Regions from separate parts of the Homo sapiens genome. Here region 1 is linked to region 2. The links are contacts of gene promoters, found by promoter capture Hi-C in human tissues and cell types (Jung and others, 2019). All regions are on one chromosome and are shown on one strand. Each heading gives the region's core, a stretch centred on a gene start or on the middle of the fragment in contact. The rest is flanking DNA. Distances are from core to core; before and after follow the strand shown. Region 1 holds the start of CCKBR (cholecystokinin B receptor). Region 2 overlaps APBB1 (amyloid beta precursor protein binding family B member 1).

The links. The method cuts DNA at HindIII sites, captures the fragments that hold promoters and counts their contacts. A contact is called where the count stands out against the background at its distance.
Region 1: the fragment with the promoter of CCKBR here is called in contact with a fragment that was not itself captured in region 2 in 1 of the 25 tissues and cell types used here (dorsolateral prefrontal cortex).

The regions. Positions count from the first base shown.
Region 1 is chr11:6,254,239-6,261,210 of GRCh38, forward strand. CCKBR (cholecystokinin B receptor) reads left to right here and starts at 5,600. Exons shown (of 5, transcript NM_176875.4): 1 at 5,600-5,841. The coding sequence starts at 5,691. The HindIII fragment of the contact is 2,957 bases long and covers 3,784-6,740 here.
Region 2 is chr11:6,405,256-6,410,519 of GRCh38, forward strand. All of the region lies in intron 2 of APBB1 (amyloid beta precursor protein binding family B member 1), which reads right to left. Among named protein-coding and RNA genes, the nearest start is that of APBB1, 11 kb to the right of the region's middle. RefSeq lists a silencer at 64-358. The HindIII fragment of the contact is 6,856 bases long and covers 587-5,264 here.

The DNA of each region.
Region 1 (6,972 bases), core at 4,350-6,849, 150 kb before region 2:
TTGCCCTGACAATAGAGGAAAAAAACTGTAACGAGTTAAGACTGCAGTTTCTTTTTCATGCAGAAGAATCAGGGATGATAAAATGGTTTGAGAGTATAGGAGACCCAGACTCCTTCCATTTTGTCACTCTGCCATCCCTAATATGTTACCCTCACTGCATGATTGAAGGTGGCTTGCTTTCCTATTTACATTCCTATTGCCCTCCCATAGGGGCAAAGAGGAAGAGAAGGTCCATTTCTCTCCTTTAAGACCTTGATGTGGAAGCTGCACATATCACTTCTACCTACAGACACTACCTAGTCATAGTGTGCATTTTTTGCACTTAGCTGCAAAAAGGTCTAGGAAATGTAGCGGTTAATTTGTAGGCCATAACTTATTTTCATCTATAATCATCTTTTTCTACTAATTTCCTCTCACAATTGAGTCTCTACTGCAATCAAAAGCTAGGATCCTCCACTTCCGCTCTGGATTGCATACATCCCTGACTTCTCAGGAACCTTGCATTATTAATTAGCCATTCTCCTGTATCTTTAGTCTTTTTATATATTGGAGTAATTCCATCTGCCAAAAAAATGAAAAAAAGAGAAAGAAAGAAAGGAAGAAAGAGAGAAAGAAAGAAAAGAAAGTTCAAGTCCACCCATCTTAAAAAAAAAAATCTTTCATTTGACATCCTCTTGCAGCTCTATCCCCTTTCCTTAGTAACTACATTTCTTAAAAACTTGTCTGAAGTCATTTACTCCACTTCTTCCCACCATATTCAGTTTTCAGGACATCTACCCTGCCTTCTGCCTCAACAACCTCACTAAAATGGCTCTTTCTAAGGTTGCCAAAGATCTCCAGGTTACTAATTTTGGACCACATTTCTCATTCCTCATTTTGCTTACCCAGGAGCAGCATTTGAATGAGTTCACCAGTTTCTTCTTGCACCTCTTCTCTTTTAGCTTTTATGATGCTTCACTCTCTGGGTTTCCTCCTGTCCCTCTGTCTACTCTTTCTTGGTGTCTTTTGCAGGCTCATCTTTCTCTATCCAGTCTTTAATAATGACCTCTAAAAGTCTGACTTGATCCTTCATTTGTTCTTATTCTACACACTCTAATTCTGTGGTTTGCATTACTTCCTATATGATCTGTATATTTAGCTTCCTAATGGAATTCTACTTAGGTATCTAATAGACATCTGAAACTTAATATGTCCAAAACAGAACAGATTTGATGGTGGGAGTTTCTCTGTGCTAGTTACTATTTTCTCTATGAAGTTGGAGTCTAGGTTGAGAGTGAAGAATGCTCTGTGTCTCTGTGTGTGTGTGTGTGTGTGTGTGTGTGTGTGTCAGGGTGGGAGAAGAAATTAGAGATTTTATGAGACGAGAAAATTTAAAAACAATATTGTGTAAAATGAGAGAAAGAAGGTAATCAGGGAAATTTGGTAAGACATCTACTCATTCTAAGCAGCACAGTATGAACAACTGAATTCTGATTTCCAAAATCCCTGACTTTGACTTCTGGCTCTTTCACCTAGTAGCTTTGTGGCTTTGGGCAAGTTACTTAAACTCTCTCTAAGCCATAGTTTTTTCATCTAAAATAGTGATCAACAATATTGGACCTAAATTCATGGTTCTTCATGAAGATTAAATGTACTTACAGGTAATGTGCCTTGAACATCATAGGTGATCATCAAATAGTTTATATTGAGTTACCAGAAACCTTATTCATTTTTTATCTCATCCTTCTTTCTCACCCTCCACATGCAAATTATCTTTAAATTCTGTTTCTACCTCCTAGATAGGTCTTAGATCAATCTTTTCCACTACGTCCATGACTTTAGGTCAAGCCACTACCATCTCTCACCCAAATTACTGTCATAGACTCCCAATTGGTCCCACCTTTTAAGTTGCTCCCCACACTAACTCCACTGCAATCTTTCCAAATCTTTCTAAATCTTAACAAATTTCCAATGCTCCCAATTCTTCCTTGCATGGCTTGCAAGAGTCTGCATTTGCTGCCTCATGAGATAGAAGGTGTATGATTTGTCTGTTGCTGTTGTAATAAATTACCATGAATGTAGTGGCTAAAAACAACACCCATTTATTAGCTCACAGATCTATTGGCCAGAGGTCTACACAGTGTGGCTGGGTTCTCTGCTCAGGGTATCAGAAATCAAGGTTTCAGCCAGACTGAATTCTCTTCTACAGACTCGGGGGAGGACTGAAGTCTCTGTTCTTTTGCTGGCTGTCAGCTAGAGACTGCTGTCAACTAGAGGCCACTCTCAGGGCTTGTCCTGTGCCCTCCTTCACCCTCGAGCCAGAAAACAGCCACCATTCGTTCCTTGCCACATTATCCCCTCCATCTTCAAGCTATCAACAGTGTGTTGAATTCTTCTCATTCTTCCAATCTCTTTGATTTCCTCTTCTGCTACCAGCAAGAAAAAAAGAACCCTTGGCTTTTAAAGAACTCATGTGACTTGGTTAGGACTAGCCAGATAATCTGTCTATCTTGAGATCAACTGATTAGTAGAATTAACTCCATCTGCAAAATCCCTTTTGCCATATAACATAATTGTGGGAGTAGTATCTCATCATATGCACAGGTCCATCCACACACAAAAGAAGATTATATAAGGGTGACAGTCATTGGTGGTCATCTTCTAATTCTGCCTACCCAAGGAGAGGAAGCCAGGGGAAATATCCCTGAAGAATCGTAGCTTGAGCTGAGATCAGATGGATGAGTAAGTGTTAACTAGGTAAGGAAGGAAAGAAGAAGCTTCCAGAGAGCATATGGAAAAGTCATGCAACTGAAGGACATATAGCAAAAAAAAAAAAAAAAAAAAAGAAAAGAAAAAAGAAAAATAAAAGAGAAAAAAGAAGGAGTGACCAAAAAAAGGCTAATGTGTTTACAGTGGAGAGAATAAGAATCATTGTGACTCTTATTTGAAATAATGTGATTTGAAATAATGTGGCTAGAGAGGTAAGTGGGAGCCAGGCCTCACAGGCTTTCTAAATTCTGTTAATATGTTTTCTCATTCCCAAAAGCAAAGGTCAAAAGAGTGGGATAGTCAGATTTGTATTCTGAGCATAGTACTTCGGCTTTAAGGTGAAGTATAGATGTAGAGAGGCATCAGTAAAATGTGGTGGCCCATTTAGGAGGTTAGGAGTGTGGTTCAAGAGTAGGGTAATATCAGTGGACATATAAGCAGGCAGATTCAAGGAACACTCAGTAGCTAAAATGAACAGGACTTTGTGATTGATTCAATATGGGAGTGATGTAGTTATGTTCCCCAGGAAGCAGACTCTCAAACAAAGATTACTGTGGAGGATGTTTACTAAGGAGCGTTCTTGGAGTTAACACCTGTGCAAGAGAGAGGATGAAAATAGGATTGGGCAAAAGGAGAAGCTGAGTAGTAATTCAGTCCCAGCAAAGACCTCAGTCAACCATATGAAGGGTTCTAGGGGTGTGAGCATCTTTCAGAGTTGTCCACCACTGGGTTGAGGGGATTAAACTTTTATACCTCTGTGCTGATCGGTCATTGGATATAGAATGCCCAAGAAAGGGAGCATAACCTTGGATGAGCTGGCTTTCTTCTGCTTAGGCAACTCCTGAAGGGTTATGACAGCTGAGGGCCATCTTTTAGGAGCACTCTCCACAGCTGGAAAATAAATCCTCCATTTTTGAAGAGGGTTCTGGGCTTTGCATCACAGCATCCAGCGCAGGGGTGAAGGAGCATAGGGGAGTAAGGCATCAATAATAATTCCTAAATTTCTGATTTGTACATCCTGGTGGGTGCACTTAACGACCATATATTACAATCATTGGCTTGCTTGGGAAAATCCCACTAGAGTAGGTGCTACTGAGGGGCAAACTATATTGGACAACTAGTGCATACCCCTAGAACTGGCATAGTTTGCTAAATAAGTGAATGTCCATCTATTTCTATTTTCACTCCCCTCTCCCTTACATCCTTTGCTCCCTTCCCTCCTCATCGTACTGTCATCCAATGTGGGAAAACTTGAGCAGGTTATCTGAGGCCCCACCTGTGCTGGAGCGGAACAAATAGCAAATCAAGCTCCTCTGGTCCAGGCTCTCTGATGGGCAAGACAGGCAGTACCAGGAGGAAGGAAAGGGGGAGCAGTTGATGACATCTCAGGCATAAACTGTCTTTCAACTCTCTTTCAATGCTTCAGCCCCTATAAACTCAGGGCTGGCTGAACCAGGTCCTCTCCAAAAGATTAATTGGATAAGGGCCTGCTGAATCCCCCATAAAGCCAGACTCCATTCTCTAATTTGCTCTTCCACTGATGCCCGCCCCCAACCTCTTACAGCTACTGCTGGGGGTCAGAAGAATTTCACATCGTATTGGAGTTCATCCGGAATCTGAAGAATGGATAGGAATCTGGAGATAGGAATCTGGAGATAGGAATCTGGGGAAGAAAAGGAATGGATAGGAGAATGCATAGGGAGCAGGGCTGAAATAGTAGAAGAGGCAAATCCTGCCCCGAGAAGCTGAACCCAGTTCAGTCCTGCACCCTTCAGCCCTGTTCCCGCTGCACCGCAGTGACCCAGTCCCCTTCTAGCCCCCTCTCGTGGGAACCTGACACCCTACACAGGCAGCTCTGCCTGCACTGAGAGCAAACAGGGAGCGTTAGCGTGTCGGGTGGGCGTGGGCGCTGCCTGGAGACGGTGGAGAAAGCCAACCTTCTCCTTCTCTTTTGCCTGCGCTGGGCCGGCGTTAGAATTATATCCCATCCTCACCTTACTCTGGTTTATCCTTGTCAGTGCTTGCCACCACCCCCAACTGCCCTCAACACTCAAGTCAGAAGCTTCCTCCCGGGAGCCCTTTTCCCTGGCAAGGCTTCCCTGGAGCCAAATCTCGGCCCCGGCCCCACCCCCACTCCCGCCCAGCTGTGGAGGGCTCCTTGGGACCCTTAAGTGCAAGCCTGAGTGTTAAGCCTCAGACAGGAGATGGAGGGTGCGGAGACAGATGCAGGAGCTACCCCAGGCCCGCAGCGAGGAGCTGCAGGGAACTACGGTAGCAATAGTGTCACGGTCACTGCGGCCACTGCAACACAGTACGGTAAATGCGGCTCTAGGCTCAGACTAAAGCATCCGCGCCTCAGCAGGTGACGCACGCAGACCTGGTCTCCAACGCCACCTCCACGTTCCCTGATACACCAGAGAAAGATGCTGGATCCGTGGCAGCCGTCTCTACCCAACCCCTCCTACCCTCCCTTCCCCGAAACCTCCCCCTACGCTGCCAATACTCTTGTCTTCAATCTCTCTCTCTCTCTCTCTCTCTCTCTCTCTCTCTCTCTCTCTCTCTCATTCCTGGGAATCGGGGGTGGGGGCGGGTGATAAAGAGAGGTGGGCAGGAGAGAAATCTCTAAGAGGAGACGGGACACATCTAGGGAGGGGGCGAGCCTGGAGGACAGTCGCACAGGGAGGGGCAGAACTCCCGAGCCAGGGAGGGGGTGCACAGTCACCTGGCGGGACAGAGGCTGGCGGAGGGACGGGAACCCAGGCGGGGCGAGCCGCGGGAGAGTGGAGGGCAGGCGCCTGGGCTGGGGGCGGGGACCAGGCGGGGCAGGGGGCAGGGAGAGGAGGGCGGCGGGAGCCTGAGCCGGAATCGCAGCGTGAGCAGGTGGAGCCGCGTTGGGAGCCCGCCGGGTCGAGCTGAGTAAGGCGGCGGGCTCGGCGGGGGCCATGGAGCTGCTAAAGCTGAACCGGAGCGTGCAGGGAACCGGACCCGGGCCGGGGGCTTCCCTGTGCCGCCCGGGGGCGCCTCTCCTCAACAGCAGCAGTGTGGGCAACCTCAGCTGCGAGCCCCCTCGCATTCGCGGAGCCGGGACACGAGGTGGGTGCCTCCCTCAGCCCCCCCCACAAGCTATTTCTCACTGTACCCCAGAACACTAATAGAGTCCCCCCAACGAGCTCCACACTACCTTCTCAAACGTCCACACCGTGCCTCTCATAGTACTCCCTCAGCCCCCAAACAGCTCCCCTCACACCTTCACCCCCACAGCCTACAACTTCATCACAGCTTCACACCACCTGGTCGGAACTCCTTCACATCCTGGTCCCCTGAATACACCTAGAGCCCCTGCTCACCCCAAAGCACAGCCCCTTCCCCAACACGCAGCCCCTCCTAGACACCAGTCAGAAGGCGAGGACCTCCTCTTGCCAACCCTGCAGATCTCCTTTTCCCTCTTACATCCAGTTCACAGAGCCACAACAGAGAAGGGAAGGAAGAAAGGAAGGCAGGACTGGGAAAAGAAGGGGGCTGGTTGAGGGAGGGAGCACTCTGGAAAGCTTGAATGCGAAGCTGAAGTTGTGATCACATCTGACACCCCAGCCCCCAGCCATCCCAAAAAAGATCCTCAAATCTGAATTAGGCTGGACACTAGGGGATGCTCCTTAGAGCTGCCTGCCTCCATTTCACTCCTTCTCAAACCCCTCTGCCTCCCTAGTTGGAGCTTTCGAGGCTCTGTGCCCTCTCTCTTTGTCTGCAAGTAATGTCTCCAGCTATCTTCCAAGCTCTCTCTCCAGCCCTAGGCTAGGTGCTGGGGGCACAGGGCAAACTAGACCCAGTCTGGACCCTCATGGCCCATAGCCAAGTGCAGAGAGAAACCAAGCAAATGGAAAAATCACAGACACAATGGAAGTCCCATGAAAGGGTCTAAACTGTGGGCACCAAAAGAACTTCACAGAGGCTAGAACCTTAGAGCTGGGTCTTGAAGTTGAGTAGGCAGAAAAGGAAGGAGTGGGATTCTAGGTGAAGGAGCAATGTTAAGCAGAAGGAAATTTTTCTAAACTCAAAAAGGGAAAGTTGGAATAAATTGTAATCCAAGTATTTATTTACCCCACGAAATAATCTATGCTTTCTCAGCCGAGTTGTTACACACTCACACTTGGATTCTGTCATTCAGCCAATATTTATTGAACCAGAGATTGTGCTAGGCAGTGGGAATGTAAGTTGAACAAAACC
Region 2 (5,264 bases), core at 2,765-5,264:
GCCTTCAGGGATCCCGCCCCTGTCCAGGACCTGCACAGCAGTTTGAACCCAAGGGTGGGCTTTGAGGTCCTGAGCCCCAGCAAGCTTGAGGCTGGGCTTGGGGCTTCCCAGCACCACCCCCCACCCCTCACCTGCCAGGGCCCAGCTAGGCTGCAGCGTCTCCTCGGCAACCGCAGCACCAGGACCGGCTGGGAGCGCCCAGACTGCTGACGTGCTTCCCGTTACCAGGGAAACCAGGAATCCTGACTGGTCCAAGAGGCAGTACTAAGGGACAGGCAGTCCCAAGACCCTGCTGCTGGGCAACCAGACACAGCAGGGCTGGGAGTGGGCGTGGTTACGCCAAGGTGGCTGCACACCTGACGAGAGTTATTCAGGCAGGGTGCTTCACCATCCTCAGCTTCCAAATGACGTGGGCCCACAGACACCCAAAGAGGAGGGGCTCTTGCCCATCCACCTTCTAGGCAGCCATCACCGCCTCTCCTCACCCCCACTTCCCCCTAACTCACACTCTATGGAATAAGGTTTTCAATAGGCACCTGAAACTTAGCTGAGGCTCAGGGAATACCTGCTGTTCCCTAGAGACCCTCCATTGCCTCAGGACTCTCCTGCTAAAACCTTCCAGGAACAGCACCCTAGGGCCTCCATGCCCTCCACAGCCACAGCCTGCTTCATGAGGGCTGGCTGGACACTTCTGGAATCTGGGGACCAGTTCACCATCTCCTGACTGAGTCACACACACCAATCCATCTGCCATCCCTGTCAGCCTGTACCTTCCTGCTTCAAAGAGCTTCATCCTTCCGATCTGTCCTGGAAGGGCAGTTTCTCCCCCCTTGGCCATCTGGGAGGCCCTTCTGGAGCTTGGCACATCTCCCTCCAAGCGCAGCCCACCCCGGCCTTTGCTTTCACACACATGCATTTATTCCAGAACGCACACCTTCACTCCTGCATCGATTCATGCGACACTTACATATAAAATACATTAAATGTTCACGTATCATTCCTTCCTTCCTTCATTCGTTCATCCACAAATGCCTTAGTGGTGAAGCCAGGTGTACTCACTTGCTCAGGAATCAGTGATTGACTTAAAGCTTTCCCCTTCTCTCCACCCCACATAACTAACATAGCCCAGGCTACTAGCTTTTTTTTTTTTAACCTGCATCATTGCAAAAACATCATAACTGGTCTTTCTCTTCCTATCTGGTCTCCTCCAATCTCAGCTGCACAGTACAGCCCAAATGATTCTTCTGAGATGCTAAACTAATCAAGTAATTTTCCAACGGAATCCTCTTAATTGTTTTGTCACTGCCCTCAGGATAAAGTCCAAATTCCTCCCCAGGTTTTATGTGCTGTCATGAACCCCTGTCTGCCTCTCAGCCTTACCTCCAGCCACTCCCCTTCTCTCTCTTTGCTTGGGACATGCCCCCTTGTCCTCTCCCAGCCCACCTCCCTTACTCTCGATTTTCACCTGGCTATCACCTACCTCTCCTTCAGACATCAGTATACAGGTCCCTTCTTAAAACTGACCCATTGCCCTCTCCCCCACCACTCTCACAGGCAGGGTCAGGGGCCCCTCCTGTACTTCCCCAGCCCCAGAGAGCTCATCGCACTGATCATAACCACTTGTTTCTTTCTTTGTCTCCTCACCAGGCTGTGAAGGCCAGGAGGTAAGAACATCTTTGCCCCATAGTATACATTTCCAGCATTTACGATAAGGCCTGGAGCAGAGTATGAATTCAATACAGGTAGTAAAGTTTATTCATTCATCATTCATTTAATTCATGAATTCATGCATTTATGCATTCAATCCATAGCTCTATGAATATCCTACAATAGGAAGGAGAATATAATTTTTGCTCAATTCTAGCCTCATTTCTGCAGGAGCACAAACCTTCTCTGCAGCCCTCATGGTCATAGCAACACAGTTGTAAAAGAGTGACTTGGCCCCTTTCCTGGGCTGGCCCCCACCTCTATCCTCAATTCACAATGTCTCCACCAGTGCATGATCCTTGAGAATCCTCTTGCCACTCCAACATCCTTGCTGAGGTCACTGCCCAGCAAACCCGCCCCAGCTCTTCAGCAGTACTATCCCCCTACTCCTAGAAGCTTCATAGGTAGTTCAGAGTTGCAGCCCCCACAGTGACCATCCCAGGGGCAAGTGAGCAACTAGGCCTCTATTTGGTCACTGACTCACACCCCCTAGTCTTGCAAACTTCCAACCTACAACCTGCAGACTGATGCAAGCCTCAGATAGATTGTGTGTGGCCTGCACAGTGCTTTTTAAAAAATAGAATTTGTTGTTAACGTTTAGAAATTGGGCTATTTTACACCAATATCTAGTTTTCAGTTTCCCTTTAACTGGCTGCATTGAGACTATATTTTTCCTCACCCCAATCCCAAAAATAATCAGCTGGAGTGCAGGAGGGGCTGTTCCTTTTAAAAGGAGTTGAGACAATGACCACCAAAGGCCACTAACATCACAAAAAAGAGAGGCAATCAGACTTTGCCTTTAGTAGAAGTATTTTTTTTTTTTTTTTTGAGACGGAGTCTCGCTCTGTCGCCCGGGCCGGACTGCGGACTGCAGTGGCGCAATCTCGGCTCACTGCAAGCTCCGCTTCCCGGGTTCACGCCATTCTCCTGCCTCAGCCTCCCGAGTAGCTGGGACTACAGGCGCCCGCCACCGCGCCCGGCTAATTTTTTGTATTTTTAGTAGAGACGGGGTTTCACCTTGTTAGCCAGTATGGTCTCGATCTCCTGACCTCATGATCCACCCGCCTCGGCCTCCCAAAGTGCTGGGATTACAGGCGTGAGCCACCGCGCCCGGCCTAGTAGAAGTATTTAATACCACCTATGAAATATTCTTGCAAAAGCAAAACACAAAAATGCTCAAATCTGAATCTGATCAAGGCTCTAGAACTAACTACCAATTTACAGGAAATCCAGGGGAAGAGGAGCATGGTAAATATGACCACAGGAGAGAGTCTGAAAAATCCAAACCATAGAAAACTCAGGACAAGCAACATGATTCTCCAGTTAAAAAACAAAAGCAAAACTGCAAACAACAACAACGAAAAAAATAGAAGGGGAACTTGATCAAACATAACTTTAACAGATAGATCAGGCCAGACATGGTTGCTCACACCTGTAAGCCTAGTGCTTTGGGAAGCCAAGGTAGGAGGATTGTTTGAGAACAGGAGTTCAAGACCAGCCTGGGCAACATGGTGAGACACTGTCTCTACATTTTTTTTTTCCTTCTTTTTTTTTTTTTTGAGAAGGAGTCTCGCTCTTATTGCCCAGGCTGGAGTACAATGGCTCTATCTCAGCTCACCACAACCTCTGTCTCCCGGGTTCAAGTGATTCTCCTGCCTCAACCTCCCGAGTAGCTGGGATTACAGGCGTTTGTAACCACGCCCAGCTAATTTTGTATTTTTAGTAGAGACAAGGTTTCACCATGTTGGCCAGGCTGATCTCGAACTCCTGACCTCACGTGATCCACCTGCCTCGGCCTCCCAAAGTGCTGGGATTACAGGCATAAGCCACCATGCCCAGCCAATGTTTGTGTTTTTTGTAGAGACAGGGTTTCACCATGTTAACCAGGCTGTTTCTGAACTCCTGGCCTCAAGCAATCCACCCACCTTAGCCTTTCAAAATGCTGGGATTACAGGCGTGAGCCACTGTGCCCAGGCTCAATCCAGCCTTTTTTTGGCAGGATATTTAATGATATTAAAGAATTATTATTAAATTTTTGTAGGTACAATAATGATATTGTGGTGGGTTTTTTTTTTAAGAGTTTTATCTTTCAGAAATGCAAAAGTAAACTGTTGTTGTTGTTGTTGAGAAAGGGTCTCTCTCTGCCATCCAGGCTGGAATGCAGTGGCTCAATCATGGCTCACTGTAGTCTCGACTTTCTTGGGTTCGGATGATCCTCTCAGGTCAGTCACCTGAGTAGCTGAGACCACAGTGGCTGATGCCTCCACTCCCGGCTAATTTTTTTGTCTTTTTTATAGAGGAGAGGTTTTGCCATGTTGCTCAGACTGGTCTTGAACTCTTGGGCTCAAGCAATCTACCCATTTTAGCCTTCTAAAATGCTGGGATTACAGGTGTGAGCCACTGCACCCAGCTGTAAACATTTATAGATAAAAGTATTTGCTTCAGAATAACCTACGCTGGGCCTAGGAACGGAAGAGAGCATGCAGGTAGCAAGATTAGTTATGTATTGATAATTGGTAAAACTGGCTCGTGGGTAAATCAGGCTCATTATTCTTTTCTCTCTATTTTTGTGTATGTTTGAAAATGTCCAGAATGAGTTTTTCGAAAGGGGATGGTGTGCAGCCCTAGGCTCATCTGAACTGCATGTTCTCCACAAAGATTGCACAGTTTGGGGTATGGGTATTGTGTCCGCCACCTGGTAAGGATAGGGGTCTTTCCTAATCTTTCTTAGACCTCCATCTACAAAACTCCAGGGTTTTGGTTGTAACTATAGCCCATTATCTCCACTCTTTGTTCCTCAGCTTTTCCTGTATTCGCTACACGACATTAGAAAATGTGGAGACTCAGCTTAATTTAAATGGACATATTTAATGATTAAGCCCTGGAGTCCTAGTATCTATTCTCCTCCCCCTACCCAAAGGGTTTTCTTTTCTAACTTTTAGTCAATATCCTACTCCTGACAAAACTGTATCCTTGCAATGGTGCTGGAGCATGTGGATTATAAGCACACAACATTCCCAGTCTTTCCAAACAGACCTCTGTGGGGAGCTGCTGGCTGCTCCCAACAGGCGTGACCTGTTAAAACGGGGCAGACTGGCGACAGAGTGAGACTCTGTCTCAAAAAAAAAAAAAACGGGGCCGACTGTCCCAAGTGCACCTGAGTGCATTGTGCTCTATGCATTGGCGGCAGCATAACACGGGGCCAAGAGCTCAGGCCTGGACTGAGACCTGGTTTAGATTTCAGCTCTATTGTAATCTCAGCCTGTCTGTGGTCTCGAGAAAGCTACTAAACCTCTCTGGATCTCTTTTTTGTTATCTGTAATATGGGAATCATCATAATATTTACCTCACAGCTTTATTGTAAGGATAAAGCCTGAAAATGCTGAGCAGAGGGCCAGTTACCTAGTCAGTGCCCAGTAAACTAGTCCACTTATCAACCATGGTGGCATGCATAATGAATAGATCCATCCATCCGGGCATGCATGATGGTCAGATCTACCAGAATGTCCAAGCACTCTCTGAATGAAAAAGCCTGGACATGGCCTGCTGTGGCCTCA